Regions from separate parts of the Homo sapiens genome. Here regions 2, 3 and 4 are each linked to region 1. The links are contacts of gene promoters, found by promoter capture Hi-C in blood cells and fetal thymus (Javierre and others, 2016). All regions are on one chromosome and are shown on one strand. The core of a region is centred on a gene start or on the middle of the fragment in contact, and the rest is flanking DNA. Distances in the headings are between cores, read along the strand shown.

What was found. Contacts are between HindIII fragments. The CHiCAGO score rates a contact against its expected background, and 5 or more counts as called.
Region 2: a fragment that was not itself captured here is called in contact with the fragment with the promoter of TAGLN in region 1 in 1 of 17 cell types (erythroblasts); the score reaches 5.5 in erythroblasts.
Region 3: a fragment that was not itself captured here is called in contact with the fragment with the promoter of TAGLN in region 1 in 4 of 17 cell types (total CD8 T cells, neutrophils, fetal thymus and 1 more); the score reaches 6.2 in total CD8 T cells.
Region 4: a contact is called between a fragment that was not itself captured here and the fragment with the promoter of TAGLN in region 1, in 2 of 17 cell types (naive CD4 T cells and total CD8 T cells). The highest score is 5.5, in naive CD4 T cells.

The regions. Positions count from the first base shown.
Region 1 is chr11:117,197,014-117,200,701 of GRCh38, forward strand. TAGLN (transgelin) reads left to right here and starts at 2,357. Exons shown (of 5, transcript NM_003186.5): 1 at 2,357-2,419. It overlaps LOC100652768 (a long non-coding RNA gene), which reads right to left. Exons shown (of 8, transcript NR_045215.1): 2 at 2,838-2,899; 3 at 1,724-1,775; 4 at 1,306-1,423; 5 at 773-894; 6 at 217-391; 7 at 1-133. It overlaps SIDT2 (SID1 transmembrane family member 2), which reads left to right. Exons shown (of 26, transcript NM_001040455.2): 26 at 1-429. RefSeq lists an enhancer at 914-1,577 and a silencer at 980-1,274. The HindIII fragment of the contact is 9,715 bases long and covers 1-3,688 here.
Region 2 is chr11:116,731,367-116,735,054 of GRCh38, forward strand. No RefSeq gene overlaps it. Among named protein-coding and RNA genes, the nearest start is that of BUD13, 40 kb to the right of the region's middle. RefSeq lists a silencer at 1,568-1,617. The HindIII fragment of the contact is 5,485 bases long and covers 1-3,688 here.
Region 3 is chr11:116,748,964-116,752,651 of GRCh38, forward strand. The region is part of intron 9 of BUD13 (BUD13 spliceosome associated protein); the gene reads right to left. Among named protein-coding and RNA genes, the nearest start is that of BUD13, 22 kb to the right of the region's middle. The HindIII fragment of the contact is 1,639 bases long and covers 740-2,378 here.
Region 4 is chr11:116,857,058-116,860,745 of GRCh38, forward strand. SIK3 (SIK family kinase 3) reads right to left here. Exons shown (of 25, transcript NM_001366686.3): 20 at 2,208-2,547; 21 at 753-1,642. Among named protein-coding and RNA genes, the nearest start is that of APOA1, 21 kb to the left of the region's middle. The HindIII fragment of the contact is 5,146 bases long and covers 1-3,688 here.

The sequences.
Region 1 (3,688 bases), core at 1,107-3,606:
AAGGGGCTTCAGGAAGGGATGTGCTGTTTCCCTCTACGTGCCCAGTCCTAGCCTCGCTCTAGGACCCAGGGCTGGCTTCTAAGTTTCCGTCCAGTCTTCAGGCAAGTTCTGTGTTAGTCATGCACACACATACCTATGAAACCTTGGAGTTTACAAAGAATTGCCCCAGCTCTGGGCACCCTGGCCACCCTGGTCCTTGGATCCCCTTCGTCCCACCTGGTCCACCCCAGATGCTGAGGATGGGGGAGCTCAGGCGGGGCCTCTGCTTTGGGGATGGGAATGTGTTTTTCTCCCAAACTTGTTTTTATAGCTCTGCTTGAAGGGCTGGGAGATGAGGTGGGTCTGGATCTTTTCTCAGAGCGTCTCCATGCTATGGTTGCATTTCCGTTTTCTATGAATGAATTTGCATTCAATAAACAACCAGACTCAGTTCTTGGGGCCCTTGTTTGCACTCCCTCTGGGTGGAGCTGTTGAGGATGAGGGGAGAGGCGGAGGTCTTCCATTTCCCCATTCTTCAAGCCATGGCCCTACTGGGAACTGCAATTCCTTGATTCTCCCGTTTTTCCTGTCCCTCCAGCAACAGCATTAATTCAGTAAACATTTACCGGGGCACTGTGCTGGACAGAGGCCAGTTCCTGGAAAAGCCTTTCCCACGCCATCCCACTGCAGACATCCCTCCTTACCTCCCCAGGAACAGCAGTCTCTGCCCACCTGGCCCCGCCCACCAGACTGAGGCTCACTTCACCTCTGACCTGAGCGGCCCCCAGCTCACCAAGCCACAGGCCCAAGCAGTGCTCCCTGATGCGGCGTTTATAATCCGCTCAGCGTGCAGGCCGAGGCAGGAGGGTGATGAAAGCTGGGCAGGCTCCAAGAGGAGGGAGTTTTGATATGTCCCTGAAAGATTCATTTAGACTTCAGTCGGCTAAGGAGGACATGATTTGGGGGCCAAGGAATCTGTTGAATTCAGAACACAACCAGAGGTCTGCAGGGTCAGGGATGGAGGAGTGGGCTTTCCCCTCGCCAGGGCCCACTCCTCTTCCTGCTTTTCCTGCAGGCGCCACTGGGAGGTGCTATGGCTGTGCCTCCCCTGGGCTCTGGAGCATGTCCAGTTGCAGTGGGCAGAACTGCGGAGGCGGGCCCCTCCTCTGCCAGGCCTGGCAGCCCCCTCCTAGGGCCTTGTTTGGCTAGGGGTGGTGCCGGGTGTGGCAGTGTGTGTGTAGTGGAGAGTGTTAGGTCTTCCCTACCAGATGCCCTTGCAGGGGAGTGCCACAGCAGTCAGTCCAGGGATCCCACTGTTAGTCTCACCTTTTTTAACCTCTTATCTCTCCCCAAGATCCCTGAAGCCAGGTACGAGCAAGATGAGAGTGGGTTATCTCTGGAGTGACAGAGGCTGGTCTGTTTTCCAGGCTGGTAGGGACTGTTCCTAAAGGGAGGAAGGGATGATACCAGCCTCCTGAGCCTCCTTCTCCTGCGTTAGTGTCTCAGGCCCTGCCAGGCCTTATAGACCCTCTTATTGACACTGCCCACTGGATGGGGACCGGAGTTGGACTCAGCTTCTGCCGAACCCTCAAATCCCAGCCCCAACTAAAGCATATAACTCAAGACCTACCTGCACTGAAAGCTCTTCTCAACCTGAGCAGGGTGGTCCAATTGAAAGGGTGGGTCTGACCACCTCTCCTGCACCCATGCGGGTTGGCAGAGGTGTGCAGGATCTGCCACTTACCATTCACCATGTGGCCTTGAGGAAGACGCACTCGGGGCCTCAGTTTCCTCATCTATAAAATGGGGATGTAATTACACCCTCACACTGTAGCTGTGAGTATTCAATGAGAGCACTGCAAAGGGCCTGGTGTGGAGTAGGTCCTCAGGAAAGGTTGGATCCCATGTCCCATCAGAGCTAAAAGCCCCAGGAGGAGAGGGTGGCTGGTTTGTCCCCACAAACCCCTGGGATTCCCGGCTCCCCAGCCCCTTGCCCCTCTCTCCAGCCAGACTCTATTGAACTCCCCCTCTTCTCAAACTCGGGGCCAGAGAACAGTGAAGTAGGAGCAGCCGTAAGTCCGGGCAGGGTCCTGTCCATAAAAGGCTTTTCCCGGGCCGGCTCCCCGCCGGCAGCGTGCCCCGCCCCGGCCCGCTCCATCTCCAAAGCATGCAGAGAATGTCTCGGCAGCCCCGGTAGACTGCTCCAACTTGGTGTCTTTCCCCAAATATGGAGCCTGTGTGGAGTCACTGGGGGAGCCGGGGGTGGGGAGCGGAGCCGGCTTCCTCTAGCAGGGAGGGGGCCGAGGAGCGAGCCAGTGGGGGAGGCTGACATCACCACGGCGGCAGCCCTTTAAACCCCTCACCCAGCCAGCGCCCCATCCTGTCTGTCCGAACCCAGACACAAGTCTTCACTCCTTCCTGCGAGCCCTGAGGAAGCCTTGTGAGTGCATTGGCTGGGGCTTGGAGGGAAGTTGGGCTGGAGCTGGACAGGAGCAGTGGGTGCATTTCAGGCAGGCTCTCCTGAGGTCCCAGGCGCCAGCTCCAGCTCCCTGGCTAGGGAAACCCACCCTCTCAGTCAGCATGGGGGCCCAAGCTCCAGGCAGGGTGGGCTGGATCACTAGCGTCCTGGATCTCTCTCAGACTGGGCAGCCCCGGGCTCATTGAAATGCCCCGGATGACTTGGCTAGTGCAGAGGAATTGATGGAAACCACCGGGGTGAGAGGGAGGCTCCCCATCTCAGCCAGCCACATCCACAAGGTGTGTGTAAGGGTGCAGGCGCCGGCCGGTTAGGCCAAGGCTCTACTGTCTGTTGCCCCTCCAGGAGAACTTCCAAGGAGGTGAGGAGTGTGTGAACGCACCTGTGTTGGAGCACGGTGTCCCACTCTGGCGGGTCCCCAGGGCCTGAGCAGCAGCGATAGCCCTGTGACAATGTGAAGGGCCACAGAACTCTTGTATTCCAGTCAGGGGCAAAGAGTGGAGACGGAAGGCCTGTCCTTCTGACAAGCAGCCCCTTCCACTGTCTGACAGTGGGAGGTCACCCCCACTGTAGCAGAGGGGTGGGGGGCGGGTACTGCCAAGGAGGAGCTTTGGAGTGATAGGCGGGGCAGGCCTGGGACCCTTGGTCTTTCCCAAAGGGTGGTTCCCTTTCGAAGTTGCTATTCCAAAGGTAGCAGTGAGGATGGCACACATTTATGTAGCCAGGCCACTCCTGTTTGTCCGTGGAGTGGAGAGGAGCCACCCTCCTGCCCTCTCAGAGGTCCAGGTGTGCTCACTCCTATTTGGGAAGAGAGAAGGGGCACAGCAGCCCTGCAGGGGCCCCTGGCTCTGCTCGTGTTTCTGGGCTTCTGCTGGTAGGGGGTGCCACCTTCCCGTTTGACCCTGGACTTTCTTTCTCCACTGCCCACTTTCACCCACTGGGCAGCTCAGGGGAGGGGTCCTGGCAGGAGCCACAGGGCAGGAGGGTCCATGCCTGTCCATGCTGTCCTGGGAGTGTCTTGAGATGCCCCTGGGGGGGCCGCCCTGTAATCATCCTCCTCTCCCCCTCCCCACTGGCTCGAAGGCAGGACTCGGGAGGCTTCATCAGAGGACTCTAAAGGATTTCTGGGGATTCTCCACTTTTCGACCCTGACCCAGGAGGAGGAAGGGGAAGGATGGTGGTGCTGGGTGGGAGTGGGGATGGTGTGTGCTTCATCCCCCTCTGACCGAAATC
Region 2 (3,688 bases), core at 316-2,815, 470 kb before region 1:
CCATCCCGTCTCCCGCTGCTGCTGCCTCGCGTGTTGCCATGGCAATCCCTGTGGCTGCCTGGGATACCCACTGCTGCTCCAGAATTCTCTGCTTAAGCAGGGCAGCTCTCCCGCAGCCTGTGTGAGACACCGCCCTTTGCCATGGTATGATCACCAGCACGTAGCCTGGAAAGCCTGATACTGGCCTCTCCCTTCAGGTGAGCAGGGAGAGAAGATGGGAGAGAGGGGCTGGTACTGGGCAAGCAACTACAGGTCAGGCCACAACAGCTTGCGGGGCCAGACTCCAGCTCAGCAGGTCATGCTTCCCCTGGCCAGGGGAGCGGAGGGACCCCATCCTGGTACAGCAACCCCTTCCTCCCACAAGGATCAAGGTCTCCCAACTGCAAGAGGGGTCAAGGGAGGGAAAGTCTCCCACATGGGGAAGAGGAAATGAGGTCTTTCTGCCAGAGTTAGAACTGGGTGAGAGGAAGGAGGGCTAGAAGATTCCAGGAGCCCTTCCCCTTCACAGGACTCCAAGGCTGGTCTGAATTCCCCCCTGCAAGTCAGGCAGAGAAACTGTCAGGCATTCCTTGGGTCCCCTCTGGCCAGGGCATCCTGGGGCCGACCCATGAGTCCTCCTGCCAATGTATCCAGGAAGGCCAATAATCCACCCAGAAAGGCACCAGCCTCAGAGCTGGCAGTGCTAGGAAACTGCTTGCCCAGTCTTTGCCTGAAGGGGCAGGAACAAGAAGTGTCAGAATTCAGGAAAGGCACAGTCCAATCCAGGATGATGGGGAGTTTCTGAGAAGGTAGGCCCTGGGACTTTGGGCTGTGTCTCCCACCCAGACTAGAGGAAGCAGGCGGCTTTCTTATCCCATTGTGCGCCAGGCCCAGGTGAGCAAATCTGGTACAATCACTACTCAGGGGACCTTAGCCCTGTACGACAACCAACTTCACCCACCACAGTCCCAGCATGGCAAAAGGAGCTTTTTAGATAGTGAGGCACATAACAAGTGCCGCAGCAGCCTCTGCTGGCCGCCTTAGCCTTCCACACCTGACGCACGGCCGAAAACGCCGGCGGACCCTCGGAACTATGCTTACCATGAGTCCCCGCTGGCCCGGGACAATTCTGGTCTACAGCTGTTGTCTCTGCATAATTACTAATAGCAAGCACACACACCCTTCACTCTCAGAAGCATCCCAGTTTGGACAATAAATTCAGTGGCCTCTAATCGCAGCCAAGCGCAGGATCCCAGCAAGCCAAGCGAGAAGGTGGAGAGACTGAACATGGAGATGAAAAGCCTTCTCTCTGGCCTCAACCAGGGATAGCTGCTCCCTTTCAGTCATCACCAAAGGAGGAAATTCAGAGTCCCCAGCCCTGGGCCAAGACAGATGCATCTGGGTAGTCACACCTGAGGGAAGAGGGAAAGCAGGTATGCGGGCCGGGGCGGAACTAGGCGGAAGGAGGAGAAAGAAGGAAGAAAGAAGAGCAGGCGCAGCTGGAGGGTAGGAAGCATGAAGGAAGCAGAACGCTATGACTCCATGTGTCCAGCAGGTGGCTACACTGAGCGGTCTGTATCGGTCCATCCCCATTGCAGCCGGGCAGCCCCATCCAGCTTGCCTTGTAAGGCTCGGGGTGTGGCTTCCTGTCCTTCTGCAAAGCCCACCTAAGTCACAAAGCCCCTCTTTCCCCTTTACCCTACTTTTCATTCGCTTTTCTCCGAATGACTCCCTAGCCTGAATTACAAAATCACGAAGACATTTCACAAACCCCCATGCCCTCACCCCGCACAACCCCGAGAGACAAGAAAGAGACGCCAGAGCAGTGGGCTCCGGGGTAGTGGGATTCCTGGATCGCTTCCTCCTGGGCTGGTGCCTGCTTGATGCAGGGCTCCTCAGAAACCCCCTGGTATCTGCCCACCTGGGTTGGGAGTCCCTGAGTACAGAGGTATAGGGACCACTGTGGTTTTTTGTGGTGTGGAAGTGAGGTCATAGAAATCAGGGAATTTCTATATGTCTGTCATTCAGAGAAGTTAATGCAAATTAGCTGCAAAGTAAAAAACAAATGTACACTATTTACATCAGAAGTCAGCAGTTATGGCATTTGGGGGATCAGGACAGCAGCAACAGTCCACACTCCACAGGGCCTCATGAGGTAGTGAGAAGAGGGAGCCCCAGGCTGGTGCGGATGGGTTTTCCTGCACTGCTGCCCACCCCTGATTCCCCAGTCCCAAGTCACTCCAGGTGAAGCAATGGCCATATGTGTGGGAGGGAGGGGAAGTCACATCCTGCACTCAGGCAGCTTGCAGTCTGGTTGATGGCCTTTAGGCCCCAGTCCCATGCTTCCTCCCACCATGGCCCCCCAGCCTAATGCCAAGATTCTCCCCAGGCTGGGGCCAAAGTGCGATTTTATCCCCCTTTTTCCCAAGTAGGAGAGGATTATTGTGAAAAGGAAAAATAAGGATCACAGAATCCTTGGGAAGATTTCAAAGATGCCCTACCTACATCTGCATATCACTAATAAATAGCTGCTGAGTTCTGGAAGTTTACACTTGCCCAGTTCTTACCTGCAGTGGAACCTCAACCTAGCATTCAGTTTAATTCAACAAATTAAATGTACTGAGTGTCTTGTACAGGCCGGGCTTTGTGCCGGATGCTGAAGACTGTGGTCTCTGCCTTGAATAAGCCCTAAGTCTGGCCGGGGGAGAAAAACACGTCAAAAACACTGTAATTTGAAGAGACTCACATTAGAGTCAGGTAGGTACAAGTACAATAGGAGCAAGTCTGAAGAGGAAGCATTTGATTCTGCCACTCTGCGGGTAGCACGGGGGCCAGGGGGAACTCCACAAAGGAAGTGACATTTGAGCTGGACCCTTAAGGGTGAATAAGGATTTGCTAGGGAGAGGAAGACCAGCGCAGAAGCAGGAGCTTGGAAAAAAGCACAGAGGCCTCAAAGAGTGGTGCAAAGTCCAAAGGCTGTAGGGAAGAGGTCGATGAACCAAGGGCCTCGAGGCGGAGGAGACTGGACACATCTTGTAGACAGGGCTTCATCCTGAATCTGCTTCCCACACGACAAAGCAGTGGACCTTCCTGTTCTCAGGGGATCCTTGTCAATACTGGGATCATCATGCTTCCCCACCCTGTTTCCAAGAAAGCAGCAGGCTCCTGTGGCTGGGCCTAGGTTGGCTGGCAGAGCCCCTCCAGGAATATCTGACAGGAGAGTTCATGTGCTAATTAAGCATGCATCTGATATTGCAGACACGACAATCAATTAGCATAGCTGATTAGACACCTCCACGAATGAGCTGTGGTGGCTCCTGAATGCCCTGAACCCACTCTGGCCCACTCTCACTCAGAGCAACCGCCCCCGACTCACTCATTCATTTGAAGAAAGAGCAGAGGCTTTGGTAGAGCTGTGGTCTTTAGCCTCAGTTTCTTCACCTACAACATGGAAATATTAGCATTAACCTTGTTGGGTTGTTGTGAGATTAATATATGGAGAGTACCTAATTTTAGTGCCTAAGTTAGTACTTAATAAATGATAGCTATTAGTTCTGGGGTGTAATACCTTGGCTTTGGAGCTAGGGATTTGAAAATGAATAAGAAATAGTTTCTGGCCATAGGAACTCCCAACGCACAAAATAGTATGATAAATGCTGTCCTCAAAGTGCCATGAAAACTCAGAAAATGGCTGAATTGGTAAGCAGAT
Region 3 (3,688 bases), core at 309-2,808, 450 kb before region 1:
GACAGAGACTCTGTCTCAAAAAAAAAAAAAAAAAAAAAGAAAGAAAGAAACAAAAAAGAAAAGAAAATATTTAAGGCATATGCAATAGAATCAAAGGGACAAAATATATCATTCATCCTTTTCTTAGTCCTTGTTCACACCCTTCCCCCACTCTGACAGCTATTTCAAACGTTTGCCACTCTAAAAGCCTGGTTCTCTCTCAGCTGATGTCCACATCTTATATTTTATCCATTCATTACACAAACATTTATTGAATTTTCATTATATACTAGGTACCATGGTAGACACTACATGAAAATGAGTATGACACAGCACCTGTCCTGATGAACTCCCAGACTAGTGGAAGAGAGAGACATTTAAACAAATAAATTAAAAGAACAGCATAAACTCTGGTAGAAATACGCATGGGGTGTCATGGAAACAGAATGGGTATCTTAATCAGCTTGGGGGAGGTATGATAAAAAGGTGACATGAGGGTTGGGCAAGAATGATCAGTAAAGGCTCTGTGTTAACTACAGCACTGGGGATGGAAGGGCCAGAAAGGGTCTGGAGGTCATTTCAGAACAGAATGAGCAACAAGAACAAAGGCACGGAAATAAGAAGTGGCCTGGTATGTGCAGCAAACCAAAGGCAAACTGGTATGGCTGGAACCTGAAGTATGACAAAGGGAACAGCCATGAGTCAAAGTTGGAAAGGCGCAGAGGCCAATGCATAATGAGCTGCGTAGGCCATGGTAAAAAGCTTAGATTTCATCCAGAAACGATGGGTTTAAAGCAAGAACTTAAACTGCATTTCAAAGAGATCACTCTGGAGGGGATCTGGGGCAGGAAAATCACTGCAATGGTCCAGGCAACAGATGATGAAGGCAATGATAAAGAGGGACGGAAGAGAGAAGACACAGGAGGCAAAATTAGTAAGACTAATTAGCAGCACTAATTGATTAGGTACACAAGGACAAAGAAGGAGGAGGCAAGTTAGAGAGCACAAGAGTAGGAGCAGGCTTACAGTAGAAGCTGATGAGTTCAGCTTTGAATACAATGCATTTGAAATCTCTCAAGTCTAAATCAATAGAGAAATCCAACAAACAGCTAAATACACCAGACCAAGATGCAAATACTGATTTGGAAATCATGTACATATAGGTCATAGTTGAAAACATGACTAGGTAAGAATCAGCCAGAGGGAGCACATAGAGTGAGAACAGCTAAAAATTATGGATGGAGCCCTGGGAAAGACTTAAGAGGTGCACAGAGGAAGAGGAGTTTGCAAAGGTGGCCAAGAATGATCAGAGAAAAGAACCAGGAGTAGGGTGTCATGGAAAACAATACAGGGGTGAATTTCAAGGAGGTAGTGAGTGGACCTCAAATCCCTTTAATTACCATGCATTCTCTTGGTCTTCTTATCTAAACTTCTTAAAAAGCCTGTATTCACTATTTGTTTCCTCACTTTTCATTCACTCCTTAATACATTAGAACCTGGCCATTGTTTCACTACACAACGGAACTAGCCCTTTCAGGTCATCACTGACATTCCTTGTTGCCAAATCCAATGACTCCTCCTTCCTCTTCCCCAAATCAGCAAACAGGTCCCACCAGCTCACCCCTGACCACATCCCCACTTCCTATTCTCTTACTAACCATCCTTACTACCACTGCCTGCAAGTCGTAGTTCAGACACTCATTACTTTCAGCCTGAGCTACTGCAAAAGCCTTGTATCTGTTCTACTTCCAATCTTGTACCTTTCAAATCCTTCATATTACTGCTATAATGGATTTGTCTATCTAAAATGCAGAGCTGTTTTTAATCCTTCCGTGTCTCCCCTTTACCTCTAGGGTGAAGACCAAGCTCCTCAGATAGGCTTCCAGGGCCTTCTGTGATCACGGTCTGCCAACCTCTCTCATCCATCTCACGCTTTATGCTATCCAACAACAGCAAATTACTTAGGGACCCCCACCACCTGGTAACACCATGGTGTCTCATAGCCTTATGACTCTGCACATATAGGACCCTCTTCCTTTAATATCCTTCCTTTCCTTCTTATCTTGGCTGGTTACCAACATCCCTTAAAACTCAGCTCCCACATTTCATCCGTTAGGAAGCACTTCCTGATCACTCACATCCTCCTAAGGCTCAACTTACTCTTCCTTTGTGCTCCCAAAACATCTTGAAAATCTTCTATAGTAACACTAACCAAACAGCGTTGAAACTGTCTGTCTTCTATTCTAGATTGAAAGTGAGCTCCTGGGCTCAGGGGCTATCTCTCTTTAATCATGGAATCCCTAGTACCTACTACCTAGCTGCTTACACTTATAACATGTATGCTAAGACTTTCCCTTAAGGGATGAGTGGAGTGAGTAACAGAGGGCTTTAAGAAGGGAAGCTTGGCCGGACATGGTGGCTCACGCCTGTAATCCCAGCACTTTGGGAGGCCGAGGCAGGTGAATCACCTGAGATGAGAAGTTCGAGACCAGCCTGGCCAACATGGTGAAACCCTGTCTCTACTAAAAATACAAAAATTAGCTGGGCGTGGTGCTCACGCCTGTAATCCCAGCTACTCGGGAGGCTGAGGCAAGAGAATTGCTTGAACCTAGGAGGCGGAGGTTCCAGTGAGCCAAGATCGTGCCATTTTGCACTCCAGCCTGAGCAACAAGAGCGAAATTCCGTCTCAAAAAAAAAAGAAGGGAAGCTTATTATAAATGGCATCCTCTCCAACCTTAGAAGCATGGATGGTATTCCAAAGCACCAAGGAAACCACTGTTTTTTACCTTGGAAATAAGGTCTTAAGAGAGTTACACTAATATGATAATACAAAGGACATATGAATAACAAACACCAAATCCTAAGCAGAATCAGAAAACAAATTGCAGGAGAACTCACAGTGGAAAGAGCTTTGGACCAGAGAATCAGGAACGCAGAGTTCTAATTCCAGCTTTCTCAGGGAAATTGCATGACTCTAGGCAAACTGCTTATTTATTGGGCCTCAGTTTCTCTTTTTTTTGAGACGGAGTCTTGCTCTGTTGCCCAGGCTGGAGTGCAGTGGCACGATCTCGGCTCACTGCAAGCTCCGCTTCCCGGGTTCACGCCATTCTCCTGCCTCAGCCTTCCGAGCAGCTGGGACTACAGGCGCCCGCCACCACGCCCAGCTAATTTTTTGTATTTTTTTTAGTAGAGACGAGGTTTCACCATGTTAGCCAGGATGGTCTCAATCTCCTGACCTCGTGATCTGCCCGCCTCGGCCTCCCAAAGTGCTGAGATTATAGGCATGAGCCACCGCACCCGGCCCCGTTTCTCTTTCAATTAAGAGAGGCTGGGTAATTATCTTATGGGTTTTTCCAACAGATACTATATATCTGTTCCGGAAATATTCCCTTGCAGCAGGCCGAAAAGAGACAAAACTAGAAAAGATGATGAAAGATGAATAACAAAAAGAAAGCAAGGGTGACAAAGGGAAATAAGAGAAGAAATCTAGGATAAAATCAGAACAAGAAGTGGAAAAAAGCAACTGAGAAAAATGAAGACAAATTAAATACTAGTAAAAAAAAACTAGGTCAGGGAGAATTCTAAGTTTTGGGTCCAAAAATTAAAAAACAAAAAACAAAAACTCGGTAGCAGGGAACATCTGTAGGGTTGTGCTATAAAAAGATCTACTTCTGGCTGTATGTATGGCAAATGAGTGTTCTGAAAAATC
Region 4 (3,688 bases), core at 534-3,033, 340 kb before region 1:
AATCCTGATCTCCTTCAGAATGATAATGAATATACTCATTAATTATAAAGTGGTACAAAATGAAATGATAATGGGGGCCCTTATGATGCTGTAATATTCTGCATTTAGCTCACTAATAAAACGACCAGAGTAATAATACCTCACATTTATGCACTGAACTCAAACATTTCAGATGATCTGAATGTGCCTCTCTCTCTCATGCAAACATTATGTAGAAACAAACACATATATACATGTTTTCATCTCCACAGATACACCGTAAGATACTCCATTGTTCCTCCAACACCTTCTTCACAGATGAGGAAAATCAGAATCAGAGGGATTAAATGACAAAGTTATCGTATTTATGATAGCTGCAAGAGCAGAATTAAGGTGCTCTGACTCTTGTTCCCACACTATTTACACTAAATTATGTTGGGCTGACTTTTTTTCTATTGCACAAGTTTAAAGTTAGCTGTTTGGATGGCAGTCAGGAATTTCTGGATTCCAAGAAACTGTGGTATGAATAAGGGAAATGGATCATCTATCTTATTGACTAAGTGTTAATTTTGTATCATGGTCCTTTGATTTTGAAAATGGACCCCTTGCCCACCAATACCCACTTCCTACATGCTTCTCCCCAAGAAGGTCGTGAAGCTCAGAAATTCTTTTTTTCTTAGGAACACAGAATACTAGCTGAAAAAAGATAACATTACTGAGTCAGTTGATTAGGGCAGACTGGCCCAGGACTTCCACTGTGAGGAGACACTTACCTCTGCTGGGCACCTTATTTTTACTGAATGCAGCAGTTGGCTGATGACCATAGGGATGTATCCCCAATTCTTGGGCATGACTCACAGTTCCTAGCAAAGATTCAGGGTCCCCAGGTCCACCGGTACTCAAGAGCAGAGGGCTGTCATGGCAACCTTTGGTCAATGTACTTGAACTCTTACTGTCTTGGAAGCCATCCTTGGCCCCCTCACACGAGCAGTCCTCCTCCATGCTCTCTGAATGCATCAGTGCCGGCTGGTGAGCATACCCGTGGGGCGGGGTGGGTGAGGAAGCCTGTGAGACACATTCTTGTGCCCTGATTTGTAGCAGATGCTGGGGGCTGGTGTGATGGTGATAAGAGTCAGCATTTTGATAAGATAAAGCCTGGCGCTCTGTCATGCTCTGTCCCCCAAGGCTGGGAGCCAGACTCCCCGCATCCCCTTGGTTCATGTGCCTGAACAGTTCCTGGTATTCTTGCTGTTGCTGCTGTTGCTGCTGCTGCTGCCGTTGTTGCTGCTGCCTTTTAATGAGCTGTGCAAACTCTGTTGGGGGCAGCCGGATGTCCGAGTGGCCGGTGAGCGAATGCCGGGGAGAAAGCAGTCCTTGAAGGATGTGGGGTACCTGCTGGTGTCTTGTATAGTCTGGCGGCGTGGGAGACAGCAGGGCCTGCTGTAGTGCCGACGTGGTATAGTGTGGCGGCTGCTGATGTGCACTGGGAGGGAAGGTGGGGAATTGGTCAAGTGGAGGGACTTTCAGGGCTTGGGTTGGAGAGAACCCCACTCCTGTTGAAGGGCTGTAGCTGCTGGGGGAACCCCGGGACTGGTCCGAAAACAGATGGGGGTGTAAATGCGCCTGGTCGTAGTTAGCAGGGGAGAACCGATTCACGTTCAAGCTGCAGACACAAAAGGGAGTACCAGACATCCATGTAACAAGTACTAGACTTCCTGGGAACAGCTCCTCCTCCTCAGTAGGGAGAACCCACTGGTACAGAGAACTGTGGTGTGACAGAGAAGTGGCAGATGTATGCATTGTCCCTATTTATTCCATTACTGGCTTGTCCAGTAACCTCCAAGGGACTGAGGGCACTGCGTGGGTAATAGATCTAGCTCATTTTGAAGGAAGCAACTTCAAGATGCTCCCTTCAAGAAAAGGGGAACTGGAATTTTTATACATTCCTCTAACAGGCCATTTTCTTCTTTGCAAGCAAATAATAAGGTAGCAAATAATAAGGTAGCTTTCCCATTTTCCACCTCAGTCTCATTAGAATTTTAACCCTGGGTCAATAAAAAGCTGACAAGTTCATTCCAAACCCAGCATCCTGATTTTAGAAAGCGTGAAACAAGAGCACAGCCTAGTCAGACCCATTCTCCTTCCCTCCTTTTCTCTCACTCTGCTAAGGGGCTTCCTCCCACCTGGATCCCATGCATAGATGGCTGGGTGACGTTAGGCGGTCTTACCTGTGAGCCTCTGCACTGTCAGCACTCAGCTGCTTGGACAAGGGACGGTGCCCATAGCTGAGGGTGGCCATCAGGTTGGTACGGTGCTGCATCTGCATCTGACCAGCACTGGGGCTGATGGAGATGCCGCGCCCACTGGAGCCTGCAGCTGTGCCTGGCATGTTGCTGAGCATGTCAACAGGCTCTTGGACTTGGATGGTGACCTGCTGTGACTGAGCAGGCTGCTGCATACCCAAGCAGGTTAGTGCCACGTTGGGAGGAGAGGAACAGTTCTCAGGTTGCTGCTGAAAGATTGCACTGCGGGAAGGTAAGCCTTGAAACTGGGAAGAAGATGCAGCCCCTGGAGAGAAAGGAACCTCAGAGTGACCAAGTGCCCAGGCCACCAGCCAGCCAGAAGTAATGAGAGCTAATGAGAATACTCAGACGACATACCAGCTAGAACAGTGCTTCTCAAACTGCACTGAGCATAGGACAAGTCTGGAGAACTTGTTAAACAGAAGATTCCTGGGTCCTATCTATATAATTCTGTTTCAAACTCTGATTCAGTAGGTCAGGATGGGCCCCTAAGAATTTGTGTTTCCAACAAGTTCCCTTAAAAGCTGGTCCATGGATTACATGGGGTAACTCGGATCTAGGCAGTGCTTCTTGAACTTTCACATGCACACAAATGGCCTGGCATCTGGTTAAAAATGCAGACTCTAGGCCGGGCGTGGTGGCTCACACCTGTAATCCCAGCACTTGGGAGGCCGAGGTGGGCGGATCATGAGGTCAGGAGTTCGAGACCAGCCTGGCCACCATGGCGAAACCCTGTCTCTACTAAAAATACAAAAATTAGCTGGGTGTGGTGGCGGGCGCCTGTAATCCCAGCTACTTGGGAGGCTGAGGCAGGAGAATCATTTGAACCCGGAGGTGGAGGTTGCAGTGAGCCGAGATCATACCACTGCACTCCAGCCTGGGTGACAGGGGGAGACTCCATCTCAAAAAAAAAAAAAACAGACTCTAACAGGTCTGGAATACGACCTGAGATCTTACTTTTTCTCCCAATATTGGTGGCTGGGGGACCCCACTTTAAGTAGGAAGAGCCTAGAGGCCAATTCAGACTCTTCTCAAGGATCCTAGGGAGACTGACTAGGGACGTAGCTCGTGGAGTGTTACTCAAGAGATCCTAAGACGGCTGACCTCTGAAGACTCACAGTCACATTATACTTATCTTCACTCCCATCTGTACACCCACAAGAGAGGGGCCCACGTGTATAGTAGACAGCCAAACGGAGGCATGTCTATAAGGAAGGTTCTGGTAGCTGCTTTTTATTTGGTAGGGCTGGAGGTTTTGTTAAAAATATTAATAATAGTAAACCTTTATTGAGAACTATTTTGTGCCAGAGACTGTTCCAAGTGTTTTACGTATATCTACATACTGTACCATAATTATCCTCAGTTGACATTTGAGAAGTAATATGGTTTGGCTCTGTGTGTACCCA